Regions from separate parts of the Homo sapiens genome. Here regions 2, 3, 4, 5, 6 and 7 are each linked to region 1. Evidence: promoter capture Hi-C in 16 types of primary human blood cells and fetal thymus (Javierre and others, 2016). All regions are on one chromosome and are shown on one strand. The core of a region is centred on a gene start or on the middle of the fragment in contact, and the rest is flanking DNA. Distances in the headings are between cores, read along the strand shown. Region 1 holds the start of LDAF1 (lipid droplet assembly factor 1). Region 2 has its middle 21 kb from the start of CDR2-DT. Region 3 overlaps CDR2 (cerebellar degeneration related protein 2). Region 4 overlaps LOC124903664 (a long non-coding RNA gene). Region 5 holds the start of POLR3E (RNA polymerase III subunit E). Region 6 holds the start of EEF2K (eukaryotic elongation factor 2 kinase). Region 7 overlaps SDR42E2 (short chain dehydrogenase/reductase family 42E, member 2).

Region 1 (3,639 bases), core at 464-2,963:
TAGGGAATGATGATTGGAAGGCTGTAATCTAAGGAAACACACACACACACACACACACACACACAATCTTTTCCTGGGTGGGGAACCCAGCATTTTGCAGCTGAACAAAGTGCATGACGCCAGACAAGATTGGCTAAAACTTAAGAATTTAGGGATTCTTGTCTGTCCTATCCCCACCATTAGCTCTTCTTTCTGCTATTGTGGAATTACAGCAGGATTCTGTGGTTTATCATATCATTGTCGTGATCATCATCATAAATCATCATCCCAAGCAAATATTTTTGAGCCCCTACTCTGTGCCTCAATAGGTGCTAAGTTCTCGACAGCCACAGCCACACTATTGCACCAGTCCTCACTACAACCCTGTGATTGCTTCTTTTTTTTTTTTTTTTTTTTTGAGACAGGGTCTCACTCTGTTGCCCAGGCTGGAGTGCAGTGTCTTCACTGCAACTTCTACTTCCCAGGTTCAAGCGATACTTCTGCCTCAGCCTCCCGAGTAGCTGGGATTACAGGTGCGCACCACCATGCCTGGCTAGTTTTTATATTTTTAGTAGAGATGGGGTTTCACCATGTTGGCCAGGCTGGTCTGGAACTCCTGGCCTCAAGTGATCTGCCCACCTCAGCCTCCCAAAGTGCTGGGATTATAGGTGTGAGCCACCGCACCCTGCCAGCTTTTTGTTATCTAAAGACTTATTTTCCAGGTTGCTATGGCCACAGGCAAAGAGGAGAGGTCGGTCAACACAGGTCCCTGTCTGGAAAGTGGCTGAGAACTGTGCAACAGCAGACCAATGGTTGGGCTTATCCCTCTCTCTAATTTATGGTTGAAGCCATGGTTCAGAGAGGTTACTTAGTCACACAGTAAGTTGCCATCATGCTCTATAGCAGTGGTTCTCACCTCGGGACGATGGGGCCTTCCAGGGGACATTTGGCAATATTTTGAGACACAACTGGAGGTGGGGGGGGGCGGTTCTTGTAACTGGCATCTAATGGGTAGAGGCTAGGATATTGCTAAACATTCTACAATCCACAGCTCAGAAACAGAATTATTCCGCCCCAAATGTCAATAGCATACTATTCAGAAACCTTACTCTATAGGGCAGATTTGGGGCCAGGGGAAACAGGGGCTCCTGCTCCGACTTGGATCCATGCAAACCGAGGAATTTGGATTGATTTATCTTGTCTCTCTCAGCCTGGACTTTTTCATGTGTAAAATGGACATCCAATCCATCTGAAAGGATCTCACTGGCTTATGACATTCGCATTTGAGCAGTCATGGTTAAAAACTTCCAGCCAGGGTGATACTTCATCACGTGTGTGTCTTGAGCGCCAGAGACGTTCCAGAGCAGCTGGTTTTAGGCATACAGGAGGGGAAACCCTGACACCCTTGGAAAACTCATTCTCGGCTGCCAGTCTGCCTGTCTTGAAGGTGGTCTGAGCTTTCTCACTCCAAGCCAGTCGTGTGGGAAGGGACACTCTCTGAGCCTCAGTTTCCTCAGCTGTCAACCTCTCAGGGCTTGTTCTAGTGGCTCCGAAAGCCAGTGGGAGCGAGCGCGCTTTGCAAAGCCTTGGGCGCCGGGCCTTGGCGCGCCTTTGCCGGATCCTTCCGGCCACGGGCGGGGCGAGCCCAGAGGAGAAGAGCCGAGGGGCGGTGCCCGGGCCAGGGGGCGGAGGCAGGCGGCTCTGGCTCCCTCTCGGGACGCTCTTTCCTTCTTCCTCTTGTTCCTCCTCCTGCCTCTCTTCGCTTCGCCTGCAAACGCGGTGGGGGCTGCTCGGCGGTCAGGAGCAGGTGAGAGCTCGGAGCTTGGGGGTGGGGGTCCGGGTGCCCCGGGTGGCTAGACCCCTCTCGCCGGGCGGGGACAGAGGAGGAGCGCGGGGGCGACGGCGTGAGCGCGCTATCGGGGTCCCACGCCCGTAGCTTTCTGCCCCGGGGTTAGTGTAAGGGGCGTCTCCTGCTTATGAGTCGCCGGGACGGGGCTGGGAGCGCACGAGGAGACACGATTCCTCCCCACCCCTAAATGCACACTCACCCCGCCACCCCCCAACACACACACACATACACACACACACTACCACTAGATTAGGTAAAATGGTAGCTAGCACCACCACACCCCGAGACTGTGCCCCTTTCTGGGGAACCTGGGGAAGACGTCGAGGCAAACCTCCCTAGGATTATTGAAAACGGGCGCCTTCCTCACCACCCAGCCCCTCTTCTCCACCGAGGTCCCCTTCCCCATCGCTGCAGAGAGATCTGCAAGTATCAAAGGGGGCTTCTTTACCCCCAAATTAATAACTAAGTACTCGACTCCCCTCTGAGTTCCCATTATTCAGTCTCTGTGCCTTCTGGGACGCGGACCCCCTCTCCACCTGCATTTCACTCCCTTCCTCCTCTCCTTGGGTCTCCCTGGCTTTTGAACGCTGAAAGGCTGGGCCCGGATGGGGAGGGGCGGCCAGTGTGAGCTCGAGGCGCCCTGTAGCTCCCATCCCCCAACCAGAGATGTGACCCCTCCTCCCAGCTTGAACTTTCGAGGTAGCCGTTTTCCCCTGGAGGTTCGGGGGTGGGAGGGCCAGGAGATTTATTTGGAGCCTTGGAAGGGGAAAGGGTTAGCTGGTGTTGGCCTGGCCCAGTCCCCCAGGCGTGAAGAAGGCGGGGCACTCCTTGGCCGCGCCGGGTTCTCGCTTTCCCTTCTCGGGAGACAGCTCCGTGCCTGGGGAGGCCCCTCCGAGGAGTGAGTGACCAGGGGGTCTGGGAATTGGTGGCCAGGTAGACGCATTTGAAGGCTGTGGCCGATGGCATTCGCCCCACGCACTCTCTCATCGGACTCCCCAAACCGGTCTGGGTGGCACTTGAGGCTCCCAGGCCAAAGGAGACCTGTAAGGGGAACTCCGCTTGTTTCTGCTTGCTGCAGAGATGAGATTATGGGAACTGAGTGCTGGGAACATCCCAAGTTCAAGACCTACGCCAGAGGCAGCTTCAAAGAGAGAATGTGGGGTGGTGGGATTAGTCCCCTCCTCAACTTTCCCCTCCAAAGGGTTTCTTGTTTTACAAAAGGGAAGTAGCAGAGGATGTCTAGCTGGGATGATTAAAATGTGCTTTAATTTGCATACTAGACCCTGTACAGCTTAGTAGTAGATAAAATTACCCCCTATATGATAAATAAATGTGAGGATCTCTCAATTAATTTTGGCCACGTGGACACAATCTTTTAAGCATTTGTACTGTAGGTCAGGTCAGTTTAAAGGGAGAAATGGAAAAGATATCTCTGTGTCCAGCCAGTTCTGGGAAATATAAAATAAGAATGATTTTTTTTTTATATTTGAAAACTCAACAAGGGTTAAAAAATATATCTAATTTAACCAATTGCCTTTATTAAAAATAAGTAAAAATTGTATGAGATTGGGACACCCCTCAAAATTCCAGGCAGTTTAGTTAGAGTATAATTACTGTGGTGAGGTCTGCCCCCGAGGTGCAGTTCTCCTTAGCAGGGATAGACTTACCCACAAGTAAGTAGATGATGATGTATGGAATGATGGAATTGGGAGCCAACCTGTACAGTAATAAAGAAGAGAAACAGGTCAAGGCTACTGTTGTACAAGGAAAGCTTTCTAGGGAGAATAAAAGGCAATGAGATTTGAAATAGT
Region 2 (3,639 bases), core at 663-3,162, 1.2 Mb after region 1:
GTGGTGAAAGGTGCAGTTTCAGTCTTCTGCATATGGCTAGCCAGCTATCCCAGCACCATTTATTGAATAAGGAATCCTTTCCCCATTGCTTATTTTTGTTGATTTTATTGAAGATCAGATGGCTGCAAGAGTACAGCTTTATTTCTCAGTTCTCTGTTCTGTTCCATTGGTCTATGTGGCTGTTTTTGTACCAGTACCATGCTGTTTTGGTTACTGTAGCCTTATAGTACGATTTGAAGTCAGGTAATGTCACTGGCTTTGTTCTCTTTGCTTAGGCTTGCTTTGCTATTTGGGCTCTTTTTGGTTCCATATGAAATTGCAAATAGTTTATTCTAACTCTGTGAAAAATGATGTTGGTAGTTTGATAGGAATAGCATTGAATCTGTAGATTGCTGTGGGCAGTATGGACATTGTAACAATATTGATTCTTCCAATCCATGAGCATGGAATGTTTTTCCATTTGTGTCATATATGATTTTTTTCAGCAGTGTTTTATAGTTCTCCTTGTAGAGATCTTTCACCTCCTTGGTGAGATGAATTCCTAGGTATGTTAATTTTTTCTGTGGCTACTGTAAATAGGATCGCATTCTTGATTTGGTTCTCAGCTTGAACATTATTCATGTAAAGAAATGCCACAGATTTTTGTACATTGATTTTGTATCCTGAAACTTTACTGAAGTCATTTATCAGTTCCAGGAGTCCTTTGGTGGAGTCTTTAGGGTTTTCTATGTATAGAATCATATTGTCACCAAAGACAGATAGTTTGACTTCTTCTCTTCCTATTTGGATGTAATTTCTTTCTTTCTTTTGCTTGATTGCTCTGGCCAGGACTTCCTTCTTTCATCTCTTGATGGACATTTGGGTTGGATCTGGTTTTTGGCTGTTACAAATAAAGCTATGAGCATTTTGTGTCTTTGTATGGATATATGCTTTCCTTGCTCTTGAGTAAATACCTAGGAGTAGAATGGCTGGGTTGTATGGAAGGTAGATGTTTACCTTTCTCTTTACTTTTTTTTTCCTTTTTTTGTTTGAGACAGAGTCTCATTCTGTCGCCCAGGCTGGAGTGCAATGGCGCAATCTCGGCTCACTGCAAGCTCCGCCTCCTGGGTTCATGCCATTCTCCTGCCTCAGCCTCTCGAGTAGCTGAGACTACAGGCTCCCGCCACCACGCCTGGCTAATTTTTTGTATTTTTATTAGAGATGGGGTTTCACCATGTTAGCCAGGATGGTCTCGATCTCCTGACCTCGTGATCCGCCTGCCTCGGCCTCCCAAAGTGCTGGGATTACAGGCGTGAGCCACCACGCCTGGCCGGTATGTAGTATCTTACTGTGTTTTTGATTTACATTTTCCTAATGACTACTAATGATGTTGAGCATCTTTTCATATGCTTACTTGCCATCCATGTATCTTTTTGGTTATTTATTAAAATAATTTGTGTCTTTTTAAATTGAGTAATTAGTCTTCATATTATTGAGTTGTAGGAGTTATTTGTATATTCTAGGCACATGTCTTTTGTCAGATATATGATCAGTAAATACTTTCTCTTAGTCTCTCTTGGTTACTAGTTGTTAAGAGAAGTATAGCCAAAAGATTTTAACAGTCATTTTTCTTAAGCCCTCACAAAAACATAGGACTTTCTATTGATCTCAATAAAAAATTATTATAAAATGGAAATCCAGGTCTGGCCCAATGGCTAACACCTGTAATTCCAGCACTTTGGGAGGCTGAGGCAGGAGGATTGCTTGAAGCCAGGAGTTTGGGACCAGCCTGGGCAACACAGCGAAACCCTGTCTCTACAAAAAATAAAAGAAAATCCAAAGTTGCTTGAAATTTATTCTTAATTTCTAGAGAATTAACACGTGTAAATTATTGTGGTAAAAAATGACAGCTTGGCCAGGCGTGGTGGCTCACGCCTGTAATCCCAGCACTTTGGGAGGCTGAGGTGGGTGGATCATGAGGTCAGGAGTTCAAGACCAGCCTGCCAAGATGGTGAAACACTGTCTCTACTAAAAATACAAAAAATTAGCCGGGCGTGGTGGTGGGTGTCAGTAATCCCAGCTAGTTGGGAGGCTGAGGCAGAGAATTACTTGAACCTGGGAGGTGGAGGTTGCAGTTAGCCGAGACGGTGCCACTGCACTCCAGCCTGGGTGACAGACTCTGCCTCAGACAAAAAAAAAAAATAATGACAGCTCATTGGAATCTGTTGTTCTTGTTATTCATTTGGCTAAGTCTCTTTAACACTTTATTGGATAAAATAATGAAGGGTGAGCACTATGTTTTCATTTTCTCTTTCTCTCTCCGTCCTCCCTCCCTCCCTTTCTCCCTTCCTCTTTCTTTCTTTCTTTCTTCTTTCTTTCTTTCTTTCTTCTTTCTTTCTTTCCTTTTCTTTCTTTCTTACCTTTTCTTTCCTTTTCTTTCTTTCTTTTCTTTCTCTCTCTCTCTTTTTCTTGAGACAGTCTCTCTCTCTCTCTCTCTCTCTCTTTTTCTTGAGACAGTCTCGCTCTGCCACCCAGGCTGGAGTGTGATGGCATGGTCTCAGCTCACTGCAATCTCCGCCTCCCAGATTCAAGCAATTCTCCTGCCTCAACCTCCCAAGTAGCTGGGATTACGGGCATGTGCCACCATGCCTGGCTAATTTTTGTATTTTTAGTAGAAATGGGGTTTCACCATGTTGGCCAGGCTCGTCTCCCAACTACTGACCTCAAGTGATCCACCTGCCTCGGCCTTCCAAAGTGCTGGGATTACAGGCGTGAGCCACCGCACCCAGCCCTCAGGCTGGTTTTCTTTTTGAGGAGTTGAATAAATAAAGGAGAAAAGGATGAATAAATACTCTGTCTCCCTAATAACTGTTGGTATAGGTCTGTCACTCTTCCATATTACACTCCCCAGAGAGGCAGAGGAGTAACTGGGTTAAGAGCATGGATCTGCAGTCTGCCCAGGAGGAGCCTGGCTCTCCACTTACTAGCTGTGCAATCCTAGGTAAGTTACTCAACCTCTCTGTGCCTTAGTTTCCTCATCTGTAAAATGAGGATCAAAATAGTACCTACTGGTCTGGGCACAATGGCTCCCAGTACTTTGGGAGGCTAAGGTGGGAGGGTCACTTGAGCCCAGGAGTTTAAGACCACCCTGGGCAACATAGCGAGACCCTGTCTCTATAAAAAATTTAAAAAAATAGCCAGACATAGTGGCACACACCTGGAGTCCCAGCTACTTGGGAGGCTGAGGTGGGAAAATCGCTTGAGCCCAGGAGGTCAAAGCTGCAGGGAGCCGTGATTGTGCCACTGCACTCCAGCCTGGGTGACAGAGCAAGACCCTGTCTTAAAAAACAACAAAAAAATAGTGCCTACCTAAGGAAATTATTATGAGGGTTAAATGAATTAAAACATCCAAAGTACTTAAAACGGTTCCTGGCACAAAATAAACCCTCTAGAAATGTTAGCTCTTATTATGTACAGCCAACTCAGTGCAGCAGGTATCTATTAGACTTTCACTGTGAGCACAGCACTGCCTTTATCCCTCTGTCTTGATGTAGGCTCCTTTGCCACAGGTTTGCCAACACTTATGTTGGAACACACTGTTGAATGGGGAGCCAAAATCTTTCATCTGTAGAAGGCTTTATTTTAGTTAAAAAAAAAAAA
Region 3 (3,639 bases), core at 324-2,823, 1.2 Mb after region 1:
CCAGGTTCAAGTGATTCTGCTGCCTCAGCCTCCTGAGTAGCTGGGATTACAGGCTTGCACCACCACACCAGGCTAATTTTTGTATTTTTATTAGAGACTGGGTTTCACCATGTTGGCCGGGCTGGTCTTGAACTCCTGACCTCAGGAGATCCACCTGACTCGGCCTGCCAAAGTGAAGGGATTACAGGCATGAGCCACCGTGCCAGGCCAGTACTGTAGTCTTCTAAGAATGGAAGGCTCTTGTGTATCTAGTCCATTCCTGACACACAGTAGGGGACAAAAAAATACTGGCGAACTGGCAGTTTCTAGACTTTTCTTCACAACAGCTTATTGTGCTTGGCATGACTCAGACTGTGAGATGTCAAGGGGGATTTAACTGAAAGGTTTTGAGAAGGGCTTTGGCTTTAGCCCTCTTGGGAAAACAGCCTATTAACCATGAATTCTCTCCCCGCTTTTCCATTTATAGATTATTTCTCTGTATTTATTCCCATGGCAGCAATTGCCCCGGTAATCTGAGGGGGAGACTTTTACAGTTCCTACCAGATACCAGATGGGTCTCAAGTTGTTGTTCTCTTACAGATAGGATGTTCAAGTTAGAGTTGTGGCCAACATACAGGAAACAAGTCAATATGCAAATAAGTACAAACAGGCCATTTAAGAAACTATAGAAAGTTCCTTGTTTGATATATAAAAACCTGTGATACCTGTGATAACAACATAATGAAACCATTTAAGAACTTGTGATATTTTGGTTTTAGATGACTTGGCTTTAACAACAATCTAAAGAATGTCAAGGAGCTTGTTTTCACATGGTAGGAGCTTAATCTTATTATATAAAACCAAAATTAATCAGAAAAGCCCTTCACTTCTCCAAGATTCAGTTATAGGGGACCTACAGAAGAGTCTGACAAAACCAGTCAGCAACTTAAAGAAAAATGATGAGCTCTCTAAGTACGTACTGATGTAAGGCCAGACATCTAGGTCTATGGAGTCAGTGCTTCATTTTTTTTCTGAATCTAGAAGGAAATGGGTTAGCTTATTTCCTACCTCTCATCTCAAGGTACAGACATGCTGCTGACATGCTGGTTTTCTCTTTGATACACAGCCTCCAATGAATCTGACTGCCATAGTAAACAGGAAAGGGAGACATTTAAAGCAAAACAGTGGGGGAAGGGGGTCATGGGGTAGCAGAAATGTGGGCAAAAATGTCAACTTATAGCAAAATGCCTTGGGTTTATCTCACTGTCTAGGAATTTGCACAGACTGTCACCTCAACTATGAGTACAAGGTTCCAGTTATGCACAAAAGCTACAAACAGGCCACCTTTACAATTAAGGTAAATCTTTAAAAAACAAAGGCCAGCAGAATTACATAAATACCTATTTGCAATTGTGGAATCCTAACCTGGAACGCAGGGAAAGATAGAAACAAACGACCCCAAGTAAAAATGCATAGAAATGGAGTGGAAATCTGGCTTGTAAGCAGTGTTGGGATTATCCTGAAATTAAGGATTACAGCCTAAATCCTCTGAATTTACTATCAAAATGAACTTCCACAATAATAAAGAAATATTTCCTATTACTTTTGAAAAATCTCTTTCCCCTGATGAAATATATTTCCCCTGTAGAAATTTGGTGGCGGGAGGCATGAACATGAAAATAGAAACCACCTATAATCCCATTATTAAAATTGTGGGATTAGATTGTTTTTAAAGTCTATTTCCAGTAATTCTGGAAGATTTATTTTTTCAGAATTTAAGTTCTTTCATGACTATAGTTAACAATATCTTATTGTATACTTCAAAATAGCTAGAAAAGATACGCAATATTCCCAACACAAAGAAATGATAAATGTTGGAGGTCATGGTTATCTCAGTTTAGATTTCATCATTACACATTGTATGCTTGTATCAAAACGTCACAGGCGCCCCAGATATATGTAAAGCTGTTATATATCCATACAAATTTTTAAAGACTTTTTTCACTACTAAAATTCTTTTTTTTTTTGAGACGGAGTCTCGCTTTTTTGCTCAGGCTGGACTGCAGTGGCGCAATCTTGGCTCACTGCAACCTCCACCTCCCGGGTTCAAGCAATTCTCTGCCTCAGCCTCCTGAGTAGCTGGGATTACAGGCGCCCGCCACCACGCCCAGCTAATTTTTCTATTTTTAGCAGAGATGGGGTTTCGCCATCTTGGCCAGGCTTATCTTGAACTCCTGACCTCGTGATCTACCTGCCTCAGCCTCCCAAAGTGCTGGGATTACAGGAGTGAGCCACCGCCACCGGCTCACTACTAAAATTCTTAAAACATTGGTAAACTATGCAACGATTTATACCGTTCAAAATATATATGCTTCCATAATCTCATCCCCTCAGAAAAATCCTATACCAAAGTAACAATTTATACTGTTCAAAATATATATGCCTCCATAATCTCATCCCCTCAGAAAACTCCTACACCAAAGCAGTGTAAGCATTATCACCATTCCATAACGGAGCAAAGAGAATCTGAGGGGTAATTCATATGTCTAAATTCTCTAGCTATTTGCAATTAAAATTGAGGGTTTAAACCTGAATCTCCTAAAACAGAGGCCAGAGCCCCTTCTGCCTGCCTTAAAAATCTCCAGAGGTGGAAACCCAAAGTTTAGGAGTTATTAGAAGAGCTTTGTAAGCTGTTTCTCCTCTGTTAAAATACTGATTTCAACAAAGTATTGATTACCTAGTATGTGTGAAAGACCATGAATAAACACAACAGTGCTCACTGTTGCAATGGGAAATAAGGGGAAAGGAAAATAAAGCAAATCAATTAAGTATCATATGCAGTAGAATATTGATACATGCAGTAAAAGCAGCACAAAATATTTTTCCATTTCCAAAGAGGGCATGAACTCTTGAAAGAAGGGATGCCTTGAAGGCCAGACTACTTTGAGTGCTAGGCACAACTCCTGTAGGGGATAATGCAGGTGTCTAAGCAGGGAAGTAACCAAAACACAAGGCTGTAGGCTGCTTACACGGTTGTAGCAAAGTGTAAATGAATCCAATGGTGTCTGATCTCATTACTCTCCCAAGTAAGAGTTCTCTCCTCCCCTCCTTCCACCCAGAACAGAAAAAACTTGCTCTGGATTCTTAAAAAATTATCTAAGTTTTTCAAATTAGCACTGAAAAAAAGTAAGACAGGCTACAGGCTTCTCTGAAGCCAGTTTAACCATTATTTTGAATAGTTTAATCTTTTTTCGTTTTCACATAAAAGGAAATTTTTGTTTTTTTCGTTTTTACATTAAAAATGATGCCTACCAAAAATACTGATCAATTTTTAGGAGGATTGTTTGAAACCCTCCAAGAGTCTTTGAAAGAATATTTGTGGTTCTACTTACAAAATACCCTTTGGCAGTGTCCAAGTTGTCTATTTCCATAATAAGTCAGAATCTTAGGGATCTTGTCCTAGTATTTTCACCAGTTCTCTGCACTATTTTTCATTCGCTCAGATGAGTTTGTTCCCAGACCATTCTTCTGGACTGTCTCATTTTAAATTTCACTGGTGGTGGGATAGGAGCTGACTTTTTGTTCTTCAACTATATATTTTTCTGAATTAAAAAAATGATCTTTTTTTTTTTTTTTTTTTTTTTTTTTTGAGACGGAGTT
Region 4 (3,639 bases), core at 664-3,163, 1.2 Mb after region 1:
ACCAAAAGAGAACAAGAGAGCTATACTTACATTAGATAAAACAAACTTTAAGTCAAAACTGTAAAATGAGACAAGGTCACAGTATAATGATAAAGGGGTCACTTAACAACTGTAAATATTCACTCAATATCTGAGCACCTAAATATAGAAAGCAAATATGAATAGCTCTGAATGGAGAGACAGACTGTAATACAATAATAGTAGGGGATTTCAATATCCCACTTTCAGTAATGGACAGATCAAGGCCAAAAAAAAAAAAAAAAATCAATAAGAAAGCATCAGATTTTACACATTAAACAAAATGGACCTACCATATACAGGAGATTCCATCCAACAGCAGAATACACATTCTTCTCGAGCATACATGGAATATTCTCCAGGACAGATCATATATTAGGGCGGTATCTTTTCTGACCACAATGGTATGAAACTAGAAATCAGTAACAGGAGGAATTTCAGAAAATTTACAAATACGTGGAAATTAAACATGCTCCTGAACAACAAATAGGCCAATGAAAAAAACTAAAAGGAAAAATTTTAAAAATATCTTGAGACAAAAATGGACACAAAACATGAAATACAACAAAAGCAGCTCTGAGACAGAAGTTTATAGCAATCCCCACCCACATCAGAAAGAAAAGACTTCAGATAAACAACCCAATGTTACACCTCAAGGCACCAGGAAAATAAAAAGAACTAGGCCCAGTTAATAAAAGGAAATAGGCCAGGTGAGGTGGCTCACACCTGTAATCCCAGCACTTTGGGAGGCCAAGGTGGGCAGATCACCTGAGGTCAGGGGTTTGAGACTAGCCTGACCAACATGGAAAAACCCCATCTCTACTAAAAATGCAAAAAAATTAGCCATGTATGGTGACACGCTCCTATAGTCCCAGCTACTCGGGAGGCTGAGGCAGAAGAATCGCTTGAACCTGGGAGACGGAGGTTGCAGTGAGATGAGATTACGCTACTGCACTCCAGCCTGGGTAACAGAGCAAGACTCCATCTCAAAAATACATACATATATACATAAATGGAAATAATAAAGACCAGAGCAAGACTACGTCTCAAAAATAAATAAAAGAAAGGAAATAGTAAAGACCAGAGCTGAAAAAAATGAAAAGATCAACAAAATTCAGTTGGTTTCTTGAAAAGATAAAATTGACAAACTTCTAGCTAAGAAAAAATAGAGAAGACTCTCATAGAATTAGAAATGGAAAAAGATAATCCCAGCACTTTGGGAGGCCAAGGCAGGTGGATCACCTGAGGTCAGGAGTTTGAGATCAGCCTGGTCAATATGGTGAACCCCATCTCTACTAAAAAATACAAAAATTTGCTGGGCATGGTGGCAGGCACCTGTAATCCCAGCTACTTGGGAGGCTGAGGTAGGAGAATCACTTGAGCCTGGGAAGGGAATGTTGTAGTGAGCTGAGATCCCACCACTGCACTCCAGCTTGGGCGATAAGAGTGAGACCTTGTAAGAAAGAAAGAAAGAAAGGAAAGAAGGGAGAGGGAGAAGGGAAGACATTACAACTGATTCCATAGAAATACAAAGGATCAGGCCAGGCACGGTGGCTCATGCCTGTAATCCCAGCACTTTGGGAGGCCAAGGTGGGCGGATCACTTGAGGTCAGGAGTTTGAGACCACCCTGGTCAAAGTGGTGAAACCCTGTCTCTACTAAAAATACAAAAAATTAGCCAGGCATGCTAGCAGGTTCCTGTAATCCCAGCTACTTGGGAGGCTGAGGCAGGAGAATCACTTGAACCCGGGAGGCAGAAGTTGCAGTGAGCCAAGACCATGCCATTGCACTCTAGCCTAGGCAACATGAGCAAAACTCCATCTCGAAAAAAAAAAATTAGCTGGGTGTGGTGGTACATGCCTGTAATCTCAGCTACTTGGGAGGCTTAGGTGGGAGAATTGCTGGAACCCGTGAGATGGAAGTTGCAGTGAGCCAAGATCACGCCACTACACACTCCAACCTGGGAGACAGAGCAAGACTCTCTGTCTCAAAAAAAAAAAAAAAAAAAAAAAAAAGAGAAAAGAAAAGAAATACAAAGGATCCTAAGAGACTACCATAAAAAATTACCAGCAAACTGGATAACCTACAAGAAATGGATGAGTTCCTAGACACATACAGCCTACCAAGACTGAATCACAAAGACACCGAAAATCTGACCAATGAGTAAGAAGGTTGAATCAATAATTTTAAAAAGTCTGCCATCAAAGAAAAGCCCAGGACCTGGTGGCATCATTGCCGAATTCAACTAAACATTTATGGAAAACTACTACCTATCTTTCTGAAACTTCCAAAAATTTGATGAAGAGGAATACTTTCAAACTAATTTTACAAGGCCAGCACTACCCTGATATCAAATCCAGACAAGGACACTATAAGAAAAGAAAATTAGGCCGAGCACAGTGGCTCATGCCTGTAATCCCAACACTGCGAGGCCAAGATGGGCAGATCACCTGAGGTCAGGAGTTTGAGAACATCCTGGCCAAAATGGTGAAACCCCGTCTCTACTAAAAATTAACCGAGAGTGGTGGCGCATGCCTGTAATACCAGCTACTCAGGAAGCTGAGGCCGGAGAATCGCTAGAACCTGGGTGGCGGAGGTTGCAGTGAGCCAAGATCGCGCCACTGCACTCCAGCCTGGGCGACAGAGCGAGACTCCACCTAAAAATATAAAGAAAGAAAGAAAGAAAGAAAATAAAAGCAAATTAGACCAATATCCTTATATCCTTGATGAACACAGCTGCAAAAACCTCACCAGAACTAGCAAACCAAATTCAGCACATTAAAAGGCTCATTCACCAGGATCAAGTGGGATTTATCCCAGTCTGGGCAATATAGCAAAACCCCATCTCTGCAAAAAAAAAAAAAAAAAAAAATTTTTTTTTTTTAATTAGCCAGGTGTGGTGCTGTGTGCCTATTGTCCCAGCTGCTTGGAAAGCTGAGGCAGGAGGACTGCTTGAGCCCAGGAGTTTGAGACTGCAGTGAGCTATGACCACCACTGCACTCCAGCCTGAGTGACAGAGTGAGACCCTGTCTCCAAAACAAAGTTGGATTTATCCCTGGGATGCAAGGATGGTTCAATGGTTCAACATATGCAAATCAATAATTGTGATACACCACATTAACAGAATGAAGGACAAAAACCATATAATCTTCTCAATAGATGCAGAAAAAGCATCTGAAAATTAACAACCATTCATGATTAAAAAATCAACAAACTAAGTATAGAAGGAATGCCCACTCTTACCTCTTCCATTCAACAAAACACTGGAAGTCCTAACTATAGCAATTGCACAGGAAAAATAAAAGGCTGGTGGCTCACGCCTGTCATCCCAGCACTTTGGGAGGCCGAGGCAGGCGGATCACCTGAGGTCAGGGGTTCGAGACCAGCCTGGCAAACATGGTGAAACCCCCACTCTACTAAAAATACAAAAATTGGCCAGGTGTGGTGGTGATAAGCCTGTAATCCCAGTTACTTGGGAGGCTGACGCAGGAGAATTGCTTGAACCCAGAAGGCAGAGGTTGCAGTGCGCTGAGATTGCGCCACTGCACTCCAGCCTGGGAGACAGAGTGAGACTCTGGAGAAAAAAAAAAAAAAAAAGGCATCCAAATCAGAAAGAAAGAAG
Region 5 (3,639 bases), core at 429-2,928, 1.1 Mb after region 1:
AGTGAGCGGAGATCGCACCACTGCACTCCAGCCTAGACAGCAAGAGCGAGACTCCACATCAAAAAAAAAAAAAAAAAAAAAAAAAAAAAAGAAAAGAAAAAAGAAAAGGAAAAAAATGCCACAATACTAAGTCATTAATTTAATGCCAGGTGGTGGCACTATGGATGATAATTTTTTTCTTTGTAATTTTTGTGCATTTTTGTTTTTAATATCTTTGCATATCCACACGGATAGGTATTTTAAAATACAGTCTGGTGAAAAATAACAGCCAATTGCAGATCTATATGAATAATGTGACAATATTTGTGTTCAAATCCATACACAATAAAAACAAAGCTATCTTCTATGGCTATATCTATATATATCCATATAGATATAAACATATAAATTCACAGCAAAAGATCTAGAAAGATATATAGTGTTTTAGTCCATTTTCTGTTGCTTATAACAGAATACCTGAAACTGGGTAATTTGTAAAGAAAAGGAAGTTATTTCTTACAGTTATGGAGTCTGAGAAGTCCAAGGTCAAGAGTGTGCATCTGGTGAGGGCCTTCTTGCTGGTGGGGGACACCTGCAGAGTTCCCAGGCAGTACAAGCCATCATATGGAGGGGGTGCTGAGCTGCTCCCTTGCTAGCTAAGGTCTCTCTCCCTCTTCTTATAAAGCCATCAGTCCCCCTCCCAAGATAACCCATTAATCCATTAACCCATTAATCCATGAATCCATGAAGAGATTAATCCATTCATAAGGGCTCCACCCTCATGATCTAATCACCTCTTAAAGGGCCCACCACACAATACTGCCACATTGGGGATTAAATTTCCAACACATGAAATTTGGGGGACACATTCAAACCATAGTTCATATTAAACAGATAATAATGGTTAGTTACCTCGGCGGAGGGGCCTAGGATGCGAGTCAAGGTCAAAGAGCATTTGTACCTTATCTGCAAAGTTTAAATATTTTGCAATAATTCGCGTGTTATTTGTGTAAGTAAAAATTTAAACATAATTTTTCAGAGACAACTGCCCAGACCAGCTCCAGGGTTTGGCCGTCAGATCCCCTGGTGCATGTTTCTGATCAGATCAATTTCTTCTCCCGGAGACACCCAATCCGGGTCGTATGGATTACCTGTGGGTTAACCAGGGGTCTCCGGGTTAACCATCCAACTCAGAGTAAAGTTTCTAAAAATGCGTTTTGCTCTAATACCTATTCGGAACCAACCTGGGTCTAAAGACTGGAGCAAGTGTTTATTTTCCAAAACACGGCTTTTTAAAATAATTCTATAGGGATCACCTTGAACACACGTTAAGCAAAAAAAAAACCTCAGCGAAAACGCCTCGCAATGTCCAGATTAAATGCAAAAGCAAAAGCATTAAGTAGCTTTCTGGCATAAACATATTGCAGCTGGGTAGCGTGGCCGAGCGGTCTAAGGCGCTGGATTAAGGCTCCAGTCTCTTCGGGGGCGTGGGTTCGAATCCCACCGCTGCCAGGGTTGCTGTCTTTTTGTCCCCGCTGCATACACTCCTGGCTCAGTTTTGCGCGTGCCATCAGCGCCCCCTGCTGCAGGGCGGGGCTCACGGCCTGCATGAATGGCGCGGCGGAGGGGGCGGAGCCGCGTGCACCGGGGCGGGGCATTGTGGGTAAGAGGAAACGCTGGGGCCGGCCCGCTCCCCCCCACGTGTCCGCCGGAGTTTCTCCACCAGCAACATGGCCGCCGCCTGAGAGGAGAGCCGGGCCGCCGCCGTCTCTGCAGCCCGCGGGTAACTGGGCCGTTGCCGCCGTCCGCGCTCGGCCCCCGCGGAGAGGTGAGTCCCGTCTTGGCAGTGCCCGAGCTGGGGCTTGAGCCGGACCGCACTCACGACGTGGGCCTGGGCTAGATTCCCGAGTAGGCCAAGGAGGCCCGCGCCGCGCTGTGCCTAGCAGCTGGAGGCCTCTCGGGACTCGGGCGGGGAGGAGGGGCAGCCGGCTCCAGGCCGACCCCGGACTCTGACTTCCTTGACCTGACACCTGGGAGTTGGGGAGGCCGCGGCCGACGCTGGCGGCGGTGACTCAGGGTCCAGCCGACCTGCCCTATCCGGGCCTGGGAGGCCTCCTACGGAAGAAACACCTGTCCGCGCGTCGGGTGTAGTGGCGGCTCGCGGCAGGGACTGCGTGGTGGGCGTGAGAAGGGGGGCCTGACCACCCGCGAGGGAGCAGAAACCCATTGGACAGCGAGGCTCGGGATCGGCGGCCCGCCCCGATGGGCAGGGAGGGCACCTGCGCCTGCCGGAGCCCCCACTTCGCAGCTGAACCGGATTAGCCTCTGCCCGGCGAGGCCAGGGATTCCTCATTCATTTATTCAGGCAACCATTCAGTGTTTACCGAGCCAACTCTGTGTTCCGGATACAGCCCTGACCATTCGGTCCGAGGAGGTGTCAGTAAACAAACAAGGTCGTTCCTTTGGGTTAGCTTTAGAATTCCTTGGGCTTGGAGGCGGAAAGAAGAGATCTTAGCGATCTCCACAGTTTCCTCATCTGTGAAATAGAGATAATAGAAATTCCTACCTCATAGGGTTGTGGTGACGGCTCAGTAGAAACCGGGTGACGCTCCTGCTTGCAGCGTTTGACTTGTGGCTTAGCGTCATTACCCGCTTACGTTGGCAGAAAACATGTTGTCAAGTAATAACAAACCTTCCCAGAGGTTACGTTTATTAGCGTCCTGTCCTTACTCCTTCCCCGCAGGGGTCTGGAGGTCGGTACTTAGTTTCCCTACTTTAGGGATGAAAATAGGGAGGAATACCAAACCCAGACAACTCAGGTGGGTCACAGATGCCAAGCAGCTGTGGTGGGATTTGAACCTGCACAGTTTTGTTCTCGGGTCCAAGCTCTTACCCACTTAACCATACTGCCGTTTATCAGAAAACCGTGCAGTATAGTGGTTAAGAATAAGAATAAGGATCTTTGACATAGCGAGACCCAAGTTTCTGTCCTCATTCCACCTTGGATGAGTTGCTTATATCTGAACCTCAGTCTCGTCATTTCCAAATTGAAGATGATAAATCTCTATTGATAGGGCTAATGAGAAGATTAAATATAAAGTATTCTTTGTACTATATTGAGTGTCAACTTCGTGCCAGGCACTGTTCTAGGTATTGAGAGAACCAGCACTGGATTTTTTTTTTAAAGTAATGCTCCCCATAACAGCTTTGATGAAGTAAAGTATGATTGTCTGCATTTCATAGTTGAGGAAACTGAAGCACTGAGAAGCCTTCATGGAGCTTACGTTCTATTGCAGAAGACAAACAACACCTGAGCAAATAGACCAGGTAGTTCCAGATTAAGATGAGACCCACCAAGGAAAGAAAACAGAGATGTGGTAGGGCCTGGGAGGAGGCTGGGGGAGGCTTTTAAAATAGGGTGGTCAGGGAACCTATCCTCTCCTGCAGGCGGTGATGATATTTAATAAAAAGGAGCAACCTTGGAAATCCCTGTGGGAGAATAGATGATGTGCAAAGGACCTGGGGTGGACTGGGGCTTGCCTTGTTGGAGGCCCAGCAAGTGGCTACCAGCCTGGATGGTGAGGGGAAGACAGAGACAAGATTATGTAGGGCCTTAGGTGGCTCATGGAAAGGAGTTTGGGTTTTATTTTATGTGACAGT
Region 6 (3,639 bases), core at 775-3,274, 1.0 Mb after region 1:
CAGTTTCAAACTGCTGGGCCCAAGGGATCCTCCTGCCTCAGCCTCCTGAGTATCTGAGACTACAGGCACACACCACCATACCTGGGTTTTTTTTTTTTTTAATGTTTTATTTTAGAGACAGGGGTCTTGCTATGTTGCCCAGGATGGTTTTGAACTCCTGGCCCCATTGATCCTCCTGCCTTGGCCTCCCAAAGCTCTGACATTACATGTGTGAGCCACCTTGCCCGGCCTTGAGTAATTTTATTTTACCGCAGTAGACATCTCCTTGAAGGCAAATGTTTCCCCCAATTCCTAGCACCATATTTGGCACACAATAGGAGCTTAATAAAATTTGCCATAAGAATTAATGCTCAGAAACTCTACTATTACATCCTATCTGCTCAACTCCCTGGAAAAGAGACATTCTCTTTTTATGGTTACTATAAAAGGCCCAGATTAGTATTTCACTGGCCTAACTTGGATCACATGCTCATCCCTGAACCAATCAATGAGGCTGAAGGGATGAAATATGCTAATTGGCCAGGTCTGGTCATGTGTCCATTTTTGGAGCCAGGGGAGTGGGGAGGGCTATTTTCCTGAACTGAAATAGGGTGAACTGGTTCCCTGAAGACTAACCAAGACGCTAATGCAAAGAAGGACACTCCTGCTGGGCAGACAAAAATGACAGAGGCTCAGAGAAGTAAAATAACTTGCCCAAGGGCCATAGAGCTTTAAGCAGTAGCGTCTTTTTTTTTTTTCCAATCTTGCTTTGGGCTTGGACAGACTAGTTCAGCATCTTTGATCTTCCCTTCCTGCCTGACGGCCCCAGGGTCAGAATTCCAGGTGCAATTTTGTCTTGCCAAAAGCTGGAGTTTACTCTCTTTGGGGTTTATAAATAAGGAAAAAAGTTCTTTGGAGAGCCTGAACTTTGAAATCAGAGAAGTCTGGATTTACTGCTGGCTCTGCCTTTTCTAGCTGCCTCACCTGGGGCATGTCATTATCTCTATAAGCCTCAGTTTTGTTCTTTTTTCTTTTTTATTTTTTTGTTTTTGTTTTTTTGCGACGGAGTCTCATTCCTTCACCCAGGCTGGAGTGTAGTGGCGCGATCTCGGCTCACTGCAACCTCTGCCTCCAGGGTTCAAGCGATTCTCGTGCCTCAGCCTCCAGAGTAGCTGGGACTACAGGCGCGCCCGGCTGCTTTTTTGTATTTTTACTAAAGACAGGGTTTTACCGTTTTGGCCAGGCTGGTCTCGAACTCCTGACCTCAGGTGATCTGCCGGCCTCGGCCTCCCAAAGTGCTGGGAAGATGGAATGAGAGAAATCCCTCAAAACATGTCATTGTTACTACTTTTCTATCTAGAATGTGTGAAATTTCTAAAATTTCACTAACAAAGTATCTGGAAGGACCTAATATTAAAGTGTTCACAGTAGCTATTAGTTTTAATTCGTTTTCTTTTTTATACCTTAGCCACTCTACCACTCATGCCACAGGTATTTATTAAGCATCTACTGTGTGCCACCCAGGCCCTGTGTCAAGAGTTAGGAATAACTAAAGGAGATACTAATTTTAAAACTACACAAATAATTGCAATCGTCATACGTGCCTGTTTTTACAAAGCAGAAATCAGGAAAAACAAAGTATTTCCGATAAAAAATATTTTAAGGTTATGGATAGAGATACATACAAACAAGCGATGGGCTTGGATCACTAATGATTTTGGAAAGGACAGGAATACAGGAACTAAGCGAGAAGCAGGCGAGAATGGCGAGGCGCGGCGGGAGAGGACGGAAGTTGGTCACTCCCTCGAATTGCCCCCTCGCTGCCGGATGCTAGGCCAGCCTTGAGCAGGAGAACCGGACACTGTGTACTCAGCAGGGGGAGCCAAGACTTAGCGCTAACCATTGCACCTGGGGCTGGGAGCCAGCGCCGGAGCCAGGAGGCCCGCTAGGCGGCTGCAGGCGCTGTGATGGCCACCTGGGGGCGGCCACGTGAGCGCCACGCCGTGCGCCCGCCAGGCCAGCCCCGCCCCTGCCCGCCCGCTTCTGCTCAACCTAGACCAGCCCCAGCTTCAGCCTCAGCTCCCCTCCTTCCTGGATCGAGCGCCCGCACTCCCGGCCCTGCAGCCACCCGAGTCCCGCTCGCTGTCGCCTGCACGCGAGTCCCCCCTGGCACGCGCTCCCACATCCCGGGATCGTCCCAACGGCCCCTGCGCCCTTCCTGGGATCACTCCGACTGCCCCGCGCGCCCTGGGATCGGTCCATCTACCCCGCGTGGCCCCAGCTGCTTGCCCGGAGCGCCAGCTAGCGCTCCCCGCTCTCCGCTCCCCGGCACTCTCGGGGGGCCCGCCCGCCCTGCACCCTGGAGCTCCGGGCCGCGAGCCTCTGCCAACTCCTCTGGACCCTCGCGGCCGTGGGCAGCGGCTGCCGCGCCTGTCTGCCCGAGGGAGGTAGGTGTGGACCGCGGCCGGCAAGGCTGTGGGGGGCTGGGAGCCCGCGCTGCAGGCCTGTGCGCCCGGGTGCAGCTGGCGTCTGGAGCGTGCTGGGTCTGGGCTTGGGAATGGGGCCGGAGAAGGCATGGAAGGAGAGTGTGGGGGCGCTTCTCCTCTGGTTGTTAAACTCTCTGGGGCTAAGTGCTTGCTTTGGAGAAATGGGGAAGTTGTGCGGATTAAAGGCGATGTGGATATGGAAAGCAATTGGCAAGCAATGGGCGGTGATCTGGCTGCAAGTGACAGAGAGTTTGGGGGCCTCCCCCCTCGGGGCCCCTAGAGTGTGGGCGCATCGCTGCCTTCCTGTCCCCTGCAGGGCTCAGAGCCGCATCCCCCACCTTTCCCCTGAACTAGAGGCCTGCGTCAGCCCGAATTCCCGGAACCTCCAGGACTGTATAGACGCGCCCTTGCTGCATTGTTGGCTGCGGGAGTTTGTTGGCAGGCGCTGCTGACATGTGTGCCAAGGGGCTGGGCATTAATAAGCCGGTGGCCGCGCGGGGGTGGGGGCCTCCCGGGTAAGCCCCGGCCTAGATCCTTTTGCGCGCGCCTGGGGGATTTCGGGGAACCAGCCCAGCTGCGCCCTGAGTGTGACAGATGGGCCGCATGGGGAAGTGAGATCTGCCCAGGGGGACGGTCCCAGGGAGCCCGACCTCTGGGACCTCGGTGGTGGGTGCTTCTTCAGCCAGGAAAGCAGGAAACACTAGGGCTGGAGTCCTGGGTTGGAATTCTAGCTCATTTATGCTCTCTGGCCCTCGGTTTTCTCATCGGTAAAATGGGTACAGTATTAGTATCTACCACTTAGTATCCTTGGAAAGAGTAGATGAGTATGTATATGTCAGGTGCTTGGAACAGTGCCTGGCACACAGTGTCATAGTCTATGGCCCCGGGAGACATCTGATGGCCAAGAGCCCTGTGGTTGAGGGCCCTGGACAGGCTGTGAAGTCACAGCGAATTGAGTCACGTAGTCTATCCTAATGTTTTTAGCGAGGAGGAAACCGAGGGTCAGAGTGATCCCCAGGCCCACAGAAGCTCCCTAAGAGGAAGCCAGTCACATAAACAGATTCTAAAAAGCGAGATGGAGTAAATGGGAATACAGAGCAAGCAGGTGGGAGCTGAGAATGCCCACTGTGTGTGTAAAGGGGAGAGGGTTATGGGGGAAGGCTTCCTGTAGCAA
Region 7 (3,639 bases), core at 506-3,005, 1.0 Mb after region 1:
ATCCTGCCCCTAAAAACCAAAAAAAAAAAAAAAGATTCTCCCCCCTCAGCCTTCTAAATAGCTGAGATTACAGGCATGCACCACCATGCCTGGCTCAGAATACTATTCTCATAATAATGATGATGCAGGTTTATATTTGCTTAGTTAAAAGAGAGGATGTTTTCATCACAGATTGTAAATAGCAAAGTAATCGGTGGTATTTGAGGTTATTTGCAAAAATCCTTCCAGTCCAGTCGGGCACGGTGGCTCACACTTGTTCCCAGCACTTTGGGAGGCTGAGGCGGGTGGATAACCTGAGGTCAGGAGTTTGAGACCAGCCTGGCCAACGCAGTGAAATCCTGTCTCTACTAAAAATACAAAAATTAGCTGGGTGTGGTGGCACATACCTGTAGTCCCAGCTACTCGGGATGCTGAGGCAGAAGAGTCGCTTGAACCTGGAAGGTGGAGGTTGCAGTGTGCTGAGACCACACCATTGTACTCCAGCCTGGGTGACAGCACAAGACTCCATCTAAAAAAAAAAAAAAAATTACTTCCAGTCCACTCTCGTTTTATTGTCTCTGATGCCCTGCTAAGTTAAAAAGGTCAAAAAAAAATCGTGATCTCCATTTTATGATGAAAAATTGAGCACTAGGAAAATTATTTGTCCAAGGCCACACCATACTGGAATTGGCTTCAGACTCCATGTTCAGTGCTCTTTAACAAGGGGAGTCAGAGGGGGAGAGTGGAGAATGGGCCACAGAAAGAAGTAGTCACCTATGGCTTCTCCTTTGAGCCATCCGGATCAGTGGAGGAGAGAATAAGATGATACTGACAATCTCTTGAGTTGTGACAGTATGCCAGGCACTGTGCTTTATCTCATTTAACTGAGTTGTAGACAACATTGTCCTCTCCATTTAGAGAGGAGGAAATGAGACACACAGTGAAATAACCTGCCCGTGATCACTCACTTAAATGGTAGAGCTGGGATTTGAACCCAGACCTCAGTGATTTCAAGCTTAACCATTAGCTTGTGAAAATGCATCAGGAATCACATCCACATAAAATAGCTGCCAGGGTGCAGCTGAATTGTGGTCAGGCAGGGACTTGGCTCCTCTCCCTCTTGTTTAACTTGGGGATTTCCTTGTTCAGCTCAGGGGCAATGTCCTTAACTGTGGAAGTTCCTTGGCTGTGGCTCGGGTACCCTCTGCTGGTCAATCTGTGACACATCAACCAGCCCTCCAGTTTGACTTTATAGCCTTTTATGCATTTAACATAAATGTTACCAGGCACTGTGCTGAGCAACGGAGGCAAGAAGACATAGTCCTTGCCCTTAGGGAGCTCCTAGTTCAAAGGGGAAGACAGCCCACTAACCAGGCAACTCAACACTGTAATTAGAGCCATTCTTGGGAAAATCGCGAGAAACTCCAGTGCACACAGAAGGGGCGCCTCAGCCAACTCTGAGGAAGTCAGAGAAAGCTTCCCAGAGGTGACATCTAGAGACATCTAGGTGTATTAGGGACCCTGCTTATCTAGCGTAACTCAACTCCTGTGCTCCCCAAAGCCCTGCACTTACTGACTAGGAAAAAAAGGGACAAATACTGGCCTCTCTCCTCACCCCCCATTAAGCATCCAAGACCACAGGTTTGACCCCAGGGGCTGTTTCAATGCCATGGGAGAATCCAGCAGCTGGTGGATTCTTCCCCAGGGTCCGGCTGAGGAAAAAGAGAGGAAGAAATGAGTCAGGTGGGAGAACATCTCCAGGTGCCAGCACAGCAGAGAAGAAATTAGGCTAGAACCTGGCTCCCCTGTGCGACCCCAGGCAAGTCACTCAACCTCTCTGACCTTTTTCCAAGTATGCACAGAACAGATAGTGCTAGTACCACCTGAGAGGATTAAATGAGGTAGGGCATAGAAAGGATTTAGTCCAGGCCAAATGCAGGGTGTGTGTTCCTTAACTGCTGATAGCTATCATTACTACCCTTCAAACCAGTGGGCCCCAAGCCATCTGGCAGCAGGGGAAACACAGCTTAGACCCTGGAGAGCAATCAGTTCTGCATAATCGAATTCCTCTCTTAGGGAAGCTTAGTTAATAAGCGAGGGCATGAAGGCTGCGACTGGGGCCCTCCTGGTCACAGTTGGTCTGGGGTTGGGGGCAGGAAGCCAAGGTCGTTTCCTGCAGATGTTTCTGGCAGGCGTTCACCTTCTCCTAGCGGATGCCTAAGAATGTATCAAGGGCCTCCTGAGTCCCAGCACCGTGCTAGGCCGGGAAGATGAGTGTAGGGGTGAGACCTTTGCTTCTTAGGGACCAAGGAGTTAAATAGGGTGCGAATTCAGCGGGGCTGGAGGGGGCGACGCAAAGGCGGCACCCTCCAATAAAAATGAACATGTAAGGAAGAAAGGAAGACCTCTCTAATGAGGGCATCGCAGGAGCAAGACGCTGCACTCGGGTCCTTTTAAATCACTATGTAATGGAGGGGAAATCCCTGCCCTCTCTTTTCCCTTTCCGTAAACAACGAAGTAGAGGATGTCCTCCTCCCACGAGGCCCGCCCTCGGATGCCCCGCCTGTCCCCGCAGGTGCGCAGCGTGGCCGTGACGCACACCTTCCAGATAGCCAAGGCCCGCGCCCAGCTCGGCTACGCGCCGGATAAGTTTAGGTTCGCCGACGCCGTGGAGCTATACGTGCAGTCCACGACCCGGCGGCCCCGCGGCTCCACGGCGCGGACCCTCCTGCGCCTGCTGCTCAGGCTGCTGCTGTTCCTCGGCTTGCTCGCCCTGGCCCTGCACTTCCTAGGCCTGCAGCCTCTGCACGCCGCCGTGGAGCGCCTGTGACCGTCCGCCGTCCGCCGCCCGCTAGGGTCGGCCCCGCTGCACCCTCGCCCACGCCCGGCTCCCTGGGCTTGTACCAGCCCCTGCCCCGCCTTCTGGGTTTGAGCGCGCCTCCGCTCCGCCCCTTGAATCCTGGTCACGCCCCCGAGCCGCTCTCCAGACCTAGCCCGGACCGCCGACTTCTGGCCACGCCCCTATCTACTCCCAGACCTTGCCTTGCGCCCTTCCTGTGTTTTGGCCCCGCCCCTGTCCTGTCCCGCCCCGCCCTCCGAAGTGGGCACGCTCCTGCTCCGCCCCCTGAATCCTGGCCACGTCCCTGGTCGGCCCAGACGCGTAGCCCCGAGTCTCTTTCCATGTTTTGACCACGCCCTTGACCCGCCCTTCAAATTGGGCACGCCTTCTTCCCCGCTCACTGATTTCCTGGCCTAGCCCCTGAGCAGACCTCCAGACCTAGCCCCGCCCCCGTTTTATAACCCCGCCCCTGCTTCACGGCTTGGGCACGCCTCTTCCCCGCCCCCTGACTTCAGAGCCTAGTCCTGAGCCGCTCTCCAGGCCTAACCCCGCCTTCATGTCATAGCCACGCCCCTTCCCGCCCTTCCATGTTTGGGCACGCCTTCTGAGTCCTGGTCACGCCTCTGTCCCGCCCCCTGAATCTTTCCTACGTCCATGACCCTCCCTCCAGGCCCTGGCCCTGCCCCTTTTTTCCTCCCTCCGGCCTGTCCGGTTTCTGATATGGGCCAAGGCTCACAGCTTCCTCCGCCTTCTGGACCTTCTCCTAGTCCCTGCCCAGTCCCGGCCCACCCCCAGATTCTCCCTCATTCTGGTTTCGCCCC

Evidence for each region. The method cuts DNA at HindIII sites, captures the fragments that hold promoters and counts their contacts. A CHiCAGO score of 5 or more calls a contact.
Region 2: a fragment that was not itself captured here is called in contact with the fragment with the promoter of LDAF1 in region 1 in 5 of 17 cell types (erythroblasts, M2 macrophages, M0 macrophages and 2 more); the score reaches 10.9 in erythroblasts.
Region 3: a fragment that was not itself captured here is called in contact with the fragment with the promoter of LDAF1 in region 1 in 7 of 17 cell types (erythroblasts, total B cells, M0 macrophages and 4 more); the score reaches 18.0 in erythroblasts.
Region 4: a fragment that was not itself captured here is called in contact with the fragment with the promoter of LDAF1 in region 1 in 9 of 17 cell types (erythroblasts, total B cells, fetal thymus and 6 more); the score reaches 17.6 in erythroblasts.
Region 5: the fragment with the promoter of POLR3E here is called in contact with the fragment with the promoter of LDAF1 in region 1 in 8 of 17 cell types (M2 macrophages, M0 macrophages, endothelial precursors and 5 more); the score reaches 15.8 in M2 macrophages.
Region 6: a contact is called between the fragment with the promoter of EEF2K here and the fragment with the promoter of LDAF1 in region 1, in 5 of 17 cell types (erythroblasts, fetal thymus, monocytes and 2 more). The highest score is 12.3, in erythroblasts.
Region 7: a contact is called between a fragment that was not itself captured here and the fragment with the promoter of LDAF1 in region 1, in 1 of 17 cell types (fetal thymus). The highest score is 5.8, in fetal thymus.

What each region holds. Positions count from the first base shown.
Region 1 is chr16:21,156,961-21,160,599 of GRCh38, forward strand. It overlaps LDAF1 (lipid droplet assembly factor 1), which reads left to right and starts at 1,714. Exons shown (of 5, transcript NM_001301771.2): 1 at 1,714-1,786. It also overlaps a transcript of DNAH3 not described here. RefSeq lists silencers at 1,594-1,723, 1,774-1,953 and enhancers at 2,211-2,711, 2,846-2,995. The HindIII fragment of the contact is 5,830 bases long and covers 1-3,597 here.
Region 2 is chr16:22,393,737-22,397,375 of GRCh38, forward strand. It overlaps the pseudogene SLC68A2P. Among named protein-coding and RNA genes, the nearest start is that of CDR2-DT, 21 kb to the left of the region's middle. The HindIII fragment of the contact is 7,194 bases long and covers 1-3,639 here.
Region 3 is chr16:22,357,140-22,360,778 of GRCh38, forward strand. All of the region lies in intron 2 of CDR2 (cerebellar degeneration related protein 2), which reads right to left. Among named protein-coding and RNA genes, the nearest start is that of CDR2, 16 kb to the right of the region's middle. RefSeq lists an enhancer at 132-211 and a silencer at 1,082-1,151. The HindIII fragment of the contact is 9,749 bases long and covers 1-3,639 here.
Region 4 is chr16:22,338,053-22,341,691 of GRCh38, forward strand. It overlaps LOC124903664 (a long non-coding RNA gene), which reads right to left. Exons shown (of 2, transcript XR_007065026.1): 2 at 1-430. Among named protein-coding and RNA genes, the nearest start is that of CDR2, 35 kb to the right of the region's middle. The HindIII fragment of the contact is 4,639 bases long and covers 1-3,639 here.
Region 5 is chr16:22,295,731-22,299,369 of GRCh38, forward strand. It overlaps POLR3E (RNA polymerase III subunit E), which reads left to right and starts at 1,679. Exons shown (of 21, transcript NM_018119.4): 1 at 1,679-1,807. TRL-AAG2-4 (tRNA-Leu (anticodon AAG) 2-4) reads left to right here and starts at 1,410; the gene lies at 1,410-1,491. RefSeq lists silencers at 1,300-1,749, 2,760-2,899 and enhancers at 1,423-1,967, 2,410-2,549. The HindIII fragment of the contact is 19,375 bases long and covers 1-3,639 here.
Region 6 is chr16:22,204,254-22,207,892 of GRCh38, forward strand. EEF2K (eukaryotic elongation factor 2 kinase) reads left to right here and starts at 2,025. Exons shown (of 18, transcript NM_013302.5): 1 at 2,025-2,426. RefSeq lists silencers at 1,796-2,095, 2,256-2,525. The HindIII fragment of the contact is 13,136 bases long and covers 1-3,639 here.
Region 7 is chr16:22,187,585-22,191,223 of GRCh38, forward strand. SDR42E2 (short chain dehydrogenase/reductase family 42E, member 2) reads left to right here. Exons shown (of 13, transcript NM_001394319.2): 13 at 2,555-3,639. The coding sequence ends at 2,809. LOC124903666 (a long non-coding RNA gene) reads right to left here and starts at 428. Exons shown (of 2, transcript XR_007065028.1): 1 at 387-428. RefSeq lists silencers at 2,553-2,642, 2,733-2,782, 2,923-3,022 and enhancers at 2,728-3,227, 3,483-3,562. The HindIII fragment of the contact is 605 bases long and covers 1,454-2,058 here.